Regions from separate parts of the Homo sapiens genome. Here regions 1 and 3 are each linked to region 2. Evidence: promoter capture Hi-C in human tissues and cell types (Jung and others, 2019). All regions are on one chromosome and are shown on one strand. Each heading gives the region's core, a stretch centred on a gene start or on the middle of the fragment in contact. The rest is flanking DNA. Distances are from core to core; before and after follow the strand shown.

Evidence for each region. Contacts are between HindIII fragments. The study calls those that stand out against the background at their distance.
Region 1: a fragment that was not itself captured here is called in contact with the fragment with the promoter of NT5DC1 in region 2 in 1 of the 25 tissues and cell types used here (dorsolateral prefrontal cortex).
Region 3: a contact is called between a fragment that was not itself captured here and the fragment with the promoter of NT5DC1 in region 2, in 1 of the 25 tissues and cell types used here (dorsolateral prefrontal cortex).

Annotation. Positions count from the first base shown.
Region 1 is chr6:114,735,263-114,738,512 of GRCh38, forward strand. No RefSeq gene overlaps it. Among named protein-coding and RNA genes, the nearest start is that of LNCPOIR, 190 kb to the left of the region's middle. The HindIII fragment of the contact is 3,469 bases long and covers 1-3,234 here.
Region 2 is chr6:116,099,231-116,102,719 of GRCh38, forward strand. NT5DC1 (5'-nucleotidase domain containing 1) reads left to right here and starts at 1,623. Exons shown (of 12, transcript NM_152729.3): 1 at 1,623-1,793. The coding sequence starts at 1,701. It also overlaps a transcript of FRK not described here. RefSeq lists enhancers at 1,283-1,805, 1,806-2,326 and a silencer at 1,439-1,698. The HindIII fragment of the contact is 5,791 bases long and covers 1-3,489 here.
Region 3 is chr6:114,118,755-114,122,197 of GRCh38, forward strand. All of the region lies in intron 3 of HS3ST5 (heparan sulfate-glucosamine 3-sulfotransferase 5), which reads right to left. The region is part of intron 6 of HDAC2-AS2 (HDAC2 and HS3ST5 antisense RNA 2); the gene reads left to right. Among named protein-coding and RNA genes, the nearest start is that of HDAC2, 150 kb to the left of the region's middle. The HindIII fragment of the contact is 4,983 bases long and covers 1-3,443 here.

The DNA.
Region 1 (3,250 bases), core at 250-2,749, 1.4 Mb before region 2:
CATAGGTTGTACTCTCAGAATACAAATACACTATTTAACAGGAGGAGCAGAACCTCTAGGGGCAGCAAACAGGCTGTTTTATTCCAAAATGTTAGGCAAAGCTAATGTCTGGGGCTATCTCTGGACTCCCTACTGCAGTAATGATGAACTTTAGAGATTTGGAGTTTTAGAAATCCATCCTAAGAGGGAGAAACTGGGTCCTTCTTGTGGGAGACCTTAGACGTTCTCCAAAGACAGGAAATTGCTGCTGTAGGAATGATGTCACTACTTAATGAAGGCACTCCCTAGCATACTACAGCACTCTGAAATAAGTTGTGGTAACTTTGGAATGCCAGAAAGAAAATAGACACAGAGCTAATTCCGTCTTTGTTCTTCTCACATAAGCTGGGAAAAAGTGATCAGACAAAACGTGAAGCCTATGCCTGATGCATTCACCAGATATAAACAAACGAAAAACACTAAAGCAGATTCATACCAGGCTTATATCTGAAAAGTCATAACTAGATTCATACCTGAAAAGTTATTGAAGTTACTTTTATTGAATTTTGTCTCTAGGAACAAATTGTGCACATCTGGGCAATAAATACCTGGTGATAGATGATTTAACTCATCATGGTTAGTGTGTCTCACAGGAGAAAAGAAAGTAGCAAGAGTCCACCATAACTAGAGTGTCATGGGAACAAGTTTTCTTTCTTTTTTTTTTTTTTTTTTGAGAGGGAGTTTGGTTCTTGTTGCCCAGGCTGGAGTGCAATAGCACGATCTCGGCTCACCGCAATCTTTGCCTCCTGGGTTCAAGTGATTCTCCTGCCTCAGCCTCCCGAGTAGCTGGGATTAGAAGCATGTGCCACCATACCTGGCTAATTTTGTATTTTTAGTAGAGATGGTGTTTCTCCATGTTGGTTGGACTGGTCTCGAACTCCCGACCTTAGGTGATCCGCCTGCCTCGGCCTCCCAAAGTGCTGGGATTACAGACATGAGCCACCGCGCCCAGCCAAGTTTTCTCTTTTTATAGATTTTCTGGTAAGATTCATTCAAATTAAGGAGTGTATTTTTTAAAAGAGCTTATTTCTAATAAATTTCTCATATTTAAAGTTATAATTTGATAAGCTTTAGTTTGGTGTATACATCCATGTAAACATCACCATAAGAGAGGGAACATAGTTGTCACTCCTTTGAGGTAAGTATAAGACCCAGGGGGAAGACTTTTTATAATGAGAAGAACATTATGCTGATAATAGATTTTTGAGGAATATTAACTTATATAAGGGATAGAAAAAGTGTAAGAGATGAGAAAATAGAAGTCAAAAGAAAGGTAGGAGGAATAACAGTAGGAAGAAACAAATGATGAGGACAGGTTTTAAAAGGCACAGGGTATAAAAGTAATAAAATCAAGTGAATGAAAATGGTAAATATCCACCAGTTTGGCACAGGAAAGCAATTGTGGGAGAGATTTTAATCAAAATGATGAGGGTAAAAATCGTAGTGCCAGTGATTTTGTGGCAATGGGAGGTGAGGAGATGGTAACCTTGAATATAGACTACCCTTTTCAGAAACATGGCTCTAAAGTTCCAGGGAATTATGGTAGTGAGAAAGAATGTAGGGTCCCTGGAGGGTTAAGGGTTCGCTTGTTTGGTCTGTTTTCTATTTTTGTTAATGGTTAATAGTTGTTTACATCTATTGACTTTCAGAGAGATTAAGTAAGAAGATGGTGAAGATAAAATAGAAACAGGGATAATTAAGAGTGTGAGCAAATGAAAAAGAAAAGAAAGAAGACCCAGATAACAAGTGAAATAATTGTTCAGGTTAAGTTAGAAGGGTCCTTCTTCTAACAAATGATGAAGAAAAGAGGTGAATATCTATTTTGGGCAATTTTATCTTTTGATTTTTCTTATATCTCTTTTGTTCTGACTTCTAAGTCAATTGGCTAGGCTTCTGTTTTTCTACCCAAATCTCCTTCTCTTTCTTTCTCTCTCTCTGTCTCTTTCTCTCTCTCTCTCTTTCTCTATTTTTTTTCTTTCTTTCTCTCTTTCTTTTCTCTCTCTTTTTTTAGATGTTCTTAGTAAATGGTACCACCATCAATTCAGGACAACAATCTAAAAGTCATCCTCAATTTGTGCCTTTCCTCTACCTTGTATATGCAATCCGTCAATATATCCTTCAGTGCAACTTTCAAGATACGTTTTGAATGTAATCATTCCTTACTCTCTCTACCACCAACAACCAACTCAAACCATCACTATCTATCTACTGTACTTCTGCTAAAGTTCCTTAATGGGTAGGTTGACCGTAGACAACTTCCTAACCTAAAGAGAGCATTTTCTTTGAAATGGATTAAAAAGATATTTATACTTAAAAGGAGTATTAGAAAAGACCCAAAGGGCCTAAGAGGAATGATCATCCCACTAATGAATTCCCCTGTTTCCATTCTTGTTCCTGTGCAGTCTGTTCTTCATATGACTGCAAGAGTAAAGGGTAATCAAATGGTGCCAGCATTCCTCCTCACCTATTCCCACCTTCAAACTTTTTGGAGACTTCTATTAGACATACAGTTAAAAGCAACTCCCCTCAATAATCTGCAAGGCCTTGCATGAGCTGAGGCCTGATCACCTTTTCCAACTTGTTTCAGATCCTAGGCCCACTGCCCATCTTTCTTTTTTAGAATCCATCAGCCAAATAGTTCTCTTGCCTACTTTATATAGCTAAAAAACAAACAAACAAACAACAACAACAAAAAACAAATTCTGTCATACCTCAGGGCTTTTTCATTTGTTCTTCTTTCAGCTAGGGTGCACTTTTCCTGACTCATCCTATGGGTGGCTGTTTCTGAAGAGTTAAGTCCAAGTTCAAATGTCATCACCTCAGAACATTCCTTCCTCACCACACAAGTAGCACACTTCTAACCTCCCAGACACTATCTACCCTACTACGTGTTTATATTCTTCATAGAGTTTGTCACAACCTATAATTATTATGTATTTTTTGTTTACTTCTGTGTTATTTGTTTTCTTTCACTGATAGGTAATTCCATGAGGTCGAAGTCCATGTCTATCTCAGTCATTATTATGCTCTAGTCAGTGTCTGTATATAGTAACCACCCCTCAAAAACACTTTTTTGAGTGAATATATGGGTAACAAATAATTATATTAGCAATGGGGAAATCAGTGAAAGAATTCTTAGCTAATGGCCTCTACTTTTTCTGAAAGGTAAAAGAAAAATTAATCTACAAAAAAACATGAAGCGTAGTTCAAG
Region 2 (3,489 bases), core at 373-2,872:
CTAAGTCAACAAAAAACAATCCTTTTATACTCTTCCCTCTTACAATGAATGTACTAGTACATTTGTATTACTAAGGGAAGTCCCTAAAGTACCTAAAGCACCTACTCCCACATGAAACAAGATATTCCCCAAGGAAACATGTGCCCTTCAATGTGGCATGCACCTGGAAGTTTGACTTTGGTAGCATTCTATTGCAAGGTGCAGAGGAGAATGCCAAGGTCAATGCTCCAGGGCCAACAAGCTTTTTCCAGCCTCTCCAACAATCCAGCCTTTTCTCTTTTGGTTCACAGACATTGAAAACATGATTGTTGGACTCATCAGTGAACAGCTTAATCTTCTTGAAGATTCTTTACTTTTCCTATTCCAGAGAGATTTGTTTGGGGCTTTTAAGTGTTATAATGGAACAAGTTATCAATTTTATTCAAATGGGTCTACTAGGTATAAGTGTCCTCCTACTCAATTGTACTATCTATTGCACTAAATTAATCCTCTGATTGGTCTATTAGCCTCAGAAGGATTAGTATTTGAAAGGGTTAAATGCAGTTCTCAATCAATTATATTTTCATTATGTCACGACTATTGATTTGTCCCATTAGACACATTGTTCCTTTAAATTGAGAACTGAAGCAGTGTAAACATAATAGATTTGTATTTTCTTTTTAAAATGAGGTACTATGTAATAAAGATCTCAAAGTGCTAGTCCTTCACATCCGGAAATCAGGAAGAGAATTAAATGCCCTAAGGCATACATTGTATGTAATGGATTAACTTTCTCTGCATCTAAAATGGTAGTAGTTATACAGTTCTTGAGAGAATTAAGCAAATGTCACTCAAAACATTTTGTGCTCTATAAACCTTAAACCCGGTTTGCAAAAGTTTTTTGTAGTATGCTCTATATATTTCTATGAAGTTTCTGATGCCCTTTCATAAAAAATTCATTACAATAACAAAATAGGATTATCAAGTAATAACCAATATTGGTTTCCATAACAAGTATCATCTTGCAAAATGGTTCTTCACGATGTCTGATACATTTATTTTCTAACGCACTCCAGGGTATGAAATAGTGAAAGGTCTGTCTTCCACTTAACCACTTAGGAAACCAAGGAATATAAAGTTTTTGGTTTAAACCACTATCAAAGATCACGTGGGTGAAAAGACCTTCCAAATTGTAGGCTAACTGGGTCAGAGGGATATTAGCGGATGAATTTTTTCTATGATCTTACTATTCCTCACACAGGGGTAAAAGGTCAGGTCTAACCTCATGATCTCCTGGTTTCCGAGGCGCCCTGAGGCGATGGAGTGTCCCGGTTAATTTTGTGGTAGCCCTCGGGAAAGGCTACGTGCCTACAGGTCTCAGCTGTGCAGCAGCGGCACCGCTCCTGGACCCCTACTGCCTTCTGGGCTCCTAGGCTTGCGGAACAGATCAGGAGTCGCCGGCATTGGGGTACCAGGAGGACGCGAGCTGACTACCTGACTCCGGGCGGCGCAGGACGCCCGCCGCGCGAGGGGCGGGGGCTAAGCGTATCGAGGGGCGGTGCTCGAGGGCGCGGGAGGCGGGAGAGGCTGCCGCGCCGTGTGCCCTGGCAGCCGCAGCCCCGCCCCGCCGCGTCCGGCCCGGTCCTGTCCCGCAGCGTCCCGCCAGCCAGCTCCTTGCACCCTTCGCGGCCGAGGCGCTCCCTGGTGCTCCCCGCGCAGCCATGGCTCAGCACTTCTCCCTGGCCGCCTGCGACGTGGTCGGATTCGACCTGGACCACACTCTGTGTCGCTACAACCTGCCCGAGAGCGCCCCGGTGAGTGGCGCGGGCTCCGGGGCGCACTGCGCGCAACCTCCATGGCGGCTGGGGCTTGAGTTTCCTCCAGGTTTGGGCAACGGCGGACGCTGCCCGGGGCCTGCGGCGGCCGAGTCTTGCCGCAGAGCGCGGCCTCCAGCGGCGAGAAGGGGCGGAAGTGTGCAGCCTCCGCTCCGCGCCGGTGCCGTGGGGACCGGCACATTTACCTCAGCCATTAGCTAATGTTGAGAGGGATAGGGAAGAACGAAGGAGGGGCAAACTGCGCAAGACCGGGCTGGGGAATCGGTGATTTCTAGGGCCGAGGAGGGGCGGGGTCAGGGGGACTAGGGCTGTCCTTGAAGATCTCACGTCGTGGAACTTTCTCTGCATGTCTTTCTGGACACCAGCTGATTGTGGACACAGCCACTTGATTTGGTACTTGCATTTTTTTTGGCTGCATTTTTCTGTTTGCACGATCAACCACCCATCAGTGTTTAAACTGCAATCTGGGAGAGATGCGTAGTATATAGTGTAGTGTATTGAAAGGAACACTAGTTGAAAAGTCATTAAGATCTTAGCCCTAGTTTTACCTTCTATCAAGAGAAGAAAATACATATTTATTGCGCATCGACTACGTGCTCCGTGCACTTTGAATACATTCCAGTCCTACCAACAGTCTGCGAAGTTTGGGTCCTCACTGTGCCCTGAGGGAGGGGGACATGGAGTATGCATGCTTCCAGACCTGTACACTCAAATTAATTGCCCTCCCTCCACTATTCCTTTGGTTTCCCAATTCCCAAGGAAACTAATTTTGAAAAGTTACCAGATTTTTTTAGTCCAAGATCTAAGCATCCAGACAGAAAAAGAGCTGGTTATGAGTACAGTGGTGAAAGCGAGGACTCCTCAGCCAGACTGCCTAGCTTAGGACACCAGCTCCACTGTTACTAGCTCTGTGACTTCGAGGAAGTTACTTAACCTGTGCTGCTTCTCAGTTTCCCCATCTGTAAAATGGAGCTAATAATTGGATTTACCTCACAAGATTGTTGCAAGGATTAAATGAGTAAGAGATGTATAATGCTTAGAATAGTACCTTGGCAAAGACAAGTGTTTGCTTTTATGGTTACCACCCAAACTATTTGGAAACCTCACAGTTTATGGGTAGAACTCTAGATCACTGGTGCAGACATCAGCCAGGGTTGTGCCCCATTATGGGCACCCGCCAGTTCCTGCACCCACCAGTTCAGGTACACGTTAAAGGTCAAAAAAGAGTGGCTGCCCGAATTTCTCGTGTGTTTTCTATGCCCAGATGCTAAATTTTTTTTTAAATGTCCTTTTTCTGCTGTTACACTTTCCTGCTTTCTTACCTTACAGGTCTGGTTTCCTTAGTCACATTGAGAATTAAGAAGGCTTTTTTACTGCTTGATTCTTTGGCCACTGCTTCCCCTAGGTCTTTGATACATGTTTTCCTTCCCTCTGTGTCTTTCGAATCCTTCCTGGTTCACAGTTTTGTGTGTCTCCTCTTTAGTTACCTTCATTTGGAGGTAATATTGTTAAACCACTGTCATGTTAGAGCTAGTGTTGTCCATAGGTGATCATAAAATTTCAGAATATAAGATTCTCAAAGACAAGAGGTTTTTTTACTGCAAACCTGGAGAATAAGTGATGTTTAAAGCTTGAAAACAGTAACCTATTGAGTTTTGGATCATGTTTGGTGTGG
Region 3 (3,443 bases), core at 581-3,080, 2.0 Mb before region 2:
AGAAGACAGGAGTAGAATAGGACTATTCTGACCAATAAAACATGAGCAGAAATGGCACATGTTACCTCTAGGTGAGAGCTTTAACAGTTGGTGTGAAATGTGGGTCTCTTTCTCTCTGCCACCATGTCTGGTGTCTGGGAATGCTCCAGATAGTGGCTGTTCTGTTTGTCTGGTCCTGGACTAAGACCAAGAGGAACACAGGAGTACCCAAGCCATGATGGATATGTAGCATGAGAAAGAGAAAAACATATATTATAAACCACTTAGATTGCAGGGTTGTTTGTAATCAAAGCATAACATGTACTGTCCCTATGAGACAATTCACCTGATTCAAAAAGAACGAAGGCACTAAAGGAGTAAGAATAGCAAAGCATAAGAAGAGGCACACAGTGAATGGATGCCCACAAACCTAAAGGGAAAAGTAGAATGCAAAGTGCCTGAGGGACGATAAACAAGACAGTAGAGAAGTTATTTCATAGGGGTGAGTCAGCCAAAGTCTTTCCTTACACAGATGGCAACACTGGCATGGTGGTTGGACCACCATTGGGAGACTCATCCATTTGATAGATGACAGAACTTTTGTTCTGATAAAATGGCAGAATCTGATAAATTCTTGACTTCCAGAAAATAATGTGACCTTTCTTTTAAAACCAACAATGTGGTCTTTCAAAAGTTGGGGAGGCAGTGAGGGGAACTGCAAATTGAAATTAAACTGCCTCAATAAGGAAGAACTGTGTAATGTTAAGGACAACATGAAAAACCTAGGAGATTAAGTAGCAACCAACATAGGGAGAGCACTGCACACAGAATTGCACTCTAGCTTTTAGAGAAGCGAATATGAAAGATTTAGAGAAGAGATATTTGTGATATCCTAATTATAAATTTTAAAAGGGTTTGGAACTCTGGCAGGATGGGAAGATTTAGCATATTCAATTACAATAATGTCACAAATAATCCTGATTAGGAGCCCTCAATCTTTGCTGGATACTACATGCTTCACCAATTCATTCAACAAATGTTTATCGAGTAACTACTGGGAGTTAGAAATTATGTCAAAATGTTGGGGTTCAAAGAGGACATCGGTCCTGCCCTCAGGAAATTTACAGTAAAGCAAGAGAGATAAACAATAAAGAAGTAATCCCAGCACTTTGGGAGGCCAAGGTGGGTGGATCTCAAGGTCAGGAGTTCGAGACCGGCCTGGCCAACGTGATGAAACCCCGTCTCTACCAAAAATACAAAAATTACCCAGGTGTGGTGACATGTGCCTGTAATCCCAGCTACTCAGGAGGCTGAGGCAGGAGAATCACTTGAACCTGGGAGGCAGAGGTTGTAGTGAGCCGAGATCGTGCCATTGCACTCTAGCCTGGGTGATAGAGCGAGATGCTGTCTCAAACAAAACAAAACAAAACAAAACAAAAAACAACAAAAAAAACCCCAAATAAACAATGAACAGACAAGCCCCCAGTAGCATTTATTAAATATTTAGTATTCATTAGTGATTATGACTGTACCTTTACCTGATTTTTTTCCCCTAACTATAAGCCTCTAGATAGGAGTAAACAGGAGAAACTGAGGTACAGAGAAATGAAGTAATTTAGCCCTACATTTATACAGTAATTGTCCAAACTATGACAGAAAGTCAATCTTCTATGATTTCAATGTCTGTATTCTTTCAACCATACTTTGATGCCTTTCATATCTAACTTTGAGATTACATATACTGTTTTTACATTTTAAAAATGTTTGTGTGTGTGTGTGTAAAATGAACAACAGATTTATCTCACACACAAAAAATACTTCTTTATGTGATTATTTTGGTCATTTTTTTCAGTTCAATTGGAAAATAGTTATAGAAAATCAGGGGACATTAATGATTTATAGGCTATGATTTGAGAACCTTTCTAGTAAGTCACATGGAAGATATAAAGTTGCTTTTCAGCAGAGTCTAAAAATACTTAACAGAGAAAAAAAGGATACTCTTAGAGAAAAATAACAAAATCCTCTCTAAAAATACAAGCAGCGATCAAATTGGTTTTACAAATGTATAGGTGAGGGTAGAAATTTCTTATTTTTAAGAGGATTTTGTTCTTTTTCTTTAGGGCTTGAATTCCACGAATTAAAAAGGGAGGTCTTACATATTTCTTTTTTCAGAAGTCCCAGTAATGTACACCTATAATTGGAGGAATTTTGGCATCTGAGAATATAACTCAGCATTTATTATAAGCCAAACAGCTAAATTGATTTTAGCATTCTGGAAGAATAATTGCACCTTTGGTGCTGAATTGCTTCCCTATGAGCATTGAGCCAAATATTAATGTACATTTGAAAGGAAACAAAAAACTTTCAAACTCTAATGTACCTCAGGCTTATAAATCGGAATCCAGTCACTTTAAATTAAGTTGGATTTCTTGAAGCAAAAGTACTCTTATTATTTTTGTATCACTGTTCTGACCCACAGTTTATACATCACATAACAGTGTTCTAAGCTTTTCAAATACAATAGAAATCTCCACGTGGGAGGTTTCTGTGATATTGCTCACTCCACCTAACACAAGCAACCACCACAGTGTCAACTCAACTCCTAGGACGTCCAAAAGACAGGTGATATTTATTCCACTCAGAGTTCTTTCTGTAATGCAGTGCATCAAGGACAAATTTACTGCCTGTTAATTCTTTTACATATTTTTTGCATTAAAGAAAAATTTAAATTTCTTAATAAGCAAAAAAAGGAAAAATGTATAATCTAATTACCTAACAAAAAAATTGGTAATATCTTGGTTTGTGACTTTCCAAACCCTTTTCTTTGTAGATAAATAAAATTTTCTTTTTATAAAAAATACAATACTAGTATTTATTACCTTATTTTTTCACTTAATCACATGTTAAAAGAATATTTACAAATAATTTAACATAGTTGTATAGTATTAGTGCATGGCTTCCCATATTTTTAAAAAAACAACCACTGTATTTGAATATTTAAGTTGTCTCCAATATTTTGTTATTATCACATCATTCCTTAGCATATCTGCCATAAAACAAATTGAATGTTTATTTTTATTTATTTATCTGTATATTTGTTTATTTTTAGCAAAAGTTAAAAATAACATTTTGGAGGTGGGAATACAATTTTGGGTGATAAGGAGTTAATGAATATTAGATCTTAGTTCTGACAGCGTGTCCTACCTTCTTCCTGCTGGAAGTCCTGTCCCAGGCCCCACCTGGGTGCTAGATGCCAGGCGCTGCTACCTTCTATGCCCTTGCTTCGCTCCTTGTCGAGACTGGGGCTCTTCCCTGACCCAGTCCAGACATCACCCCCTGTCCCTGGGGATGAACCTGTCTTGCATAATACTTGAAGGGAAGGTCCAGCTGGGATTGTCTGTCACTCTGCTTAGCCAGCCTTGCTAAGCTGACAGTTTCCAGAATGTGTGATGAGCCCTTAGAGT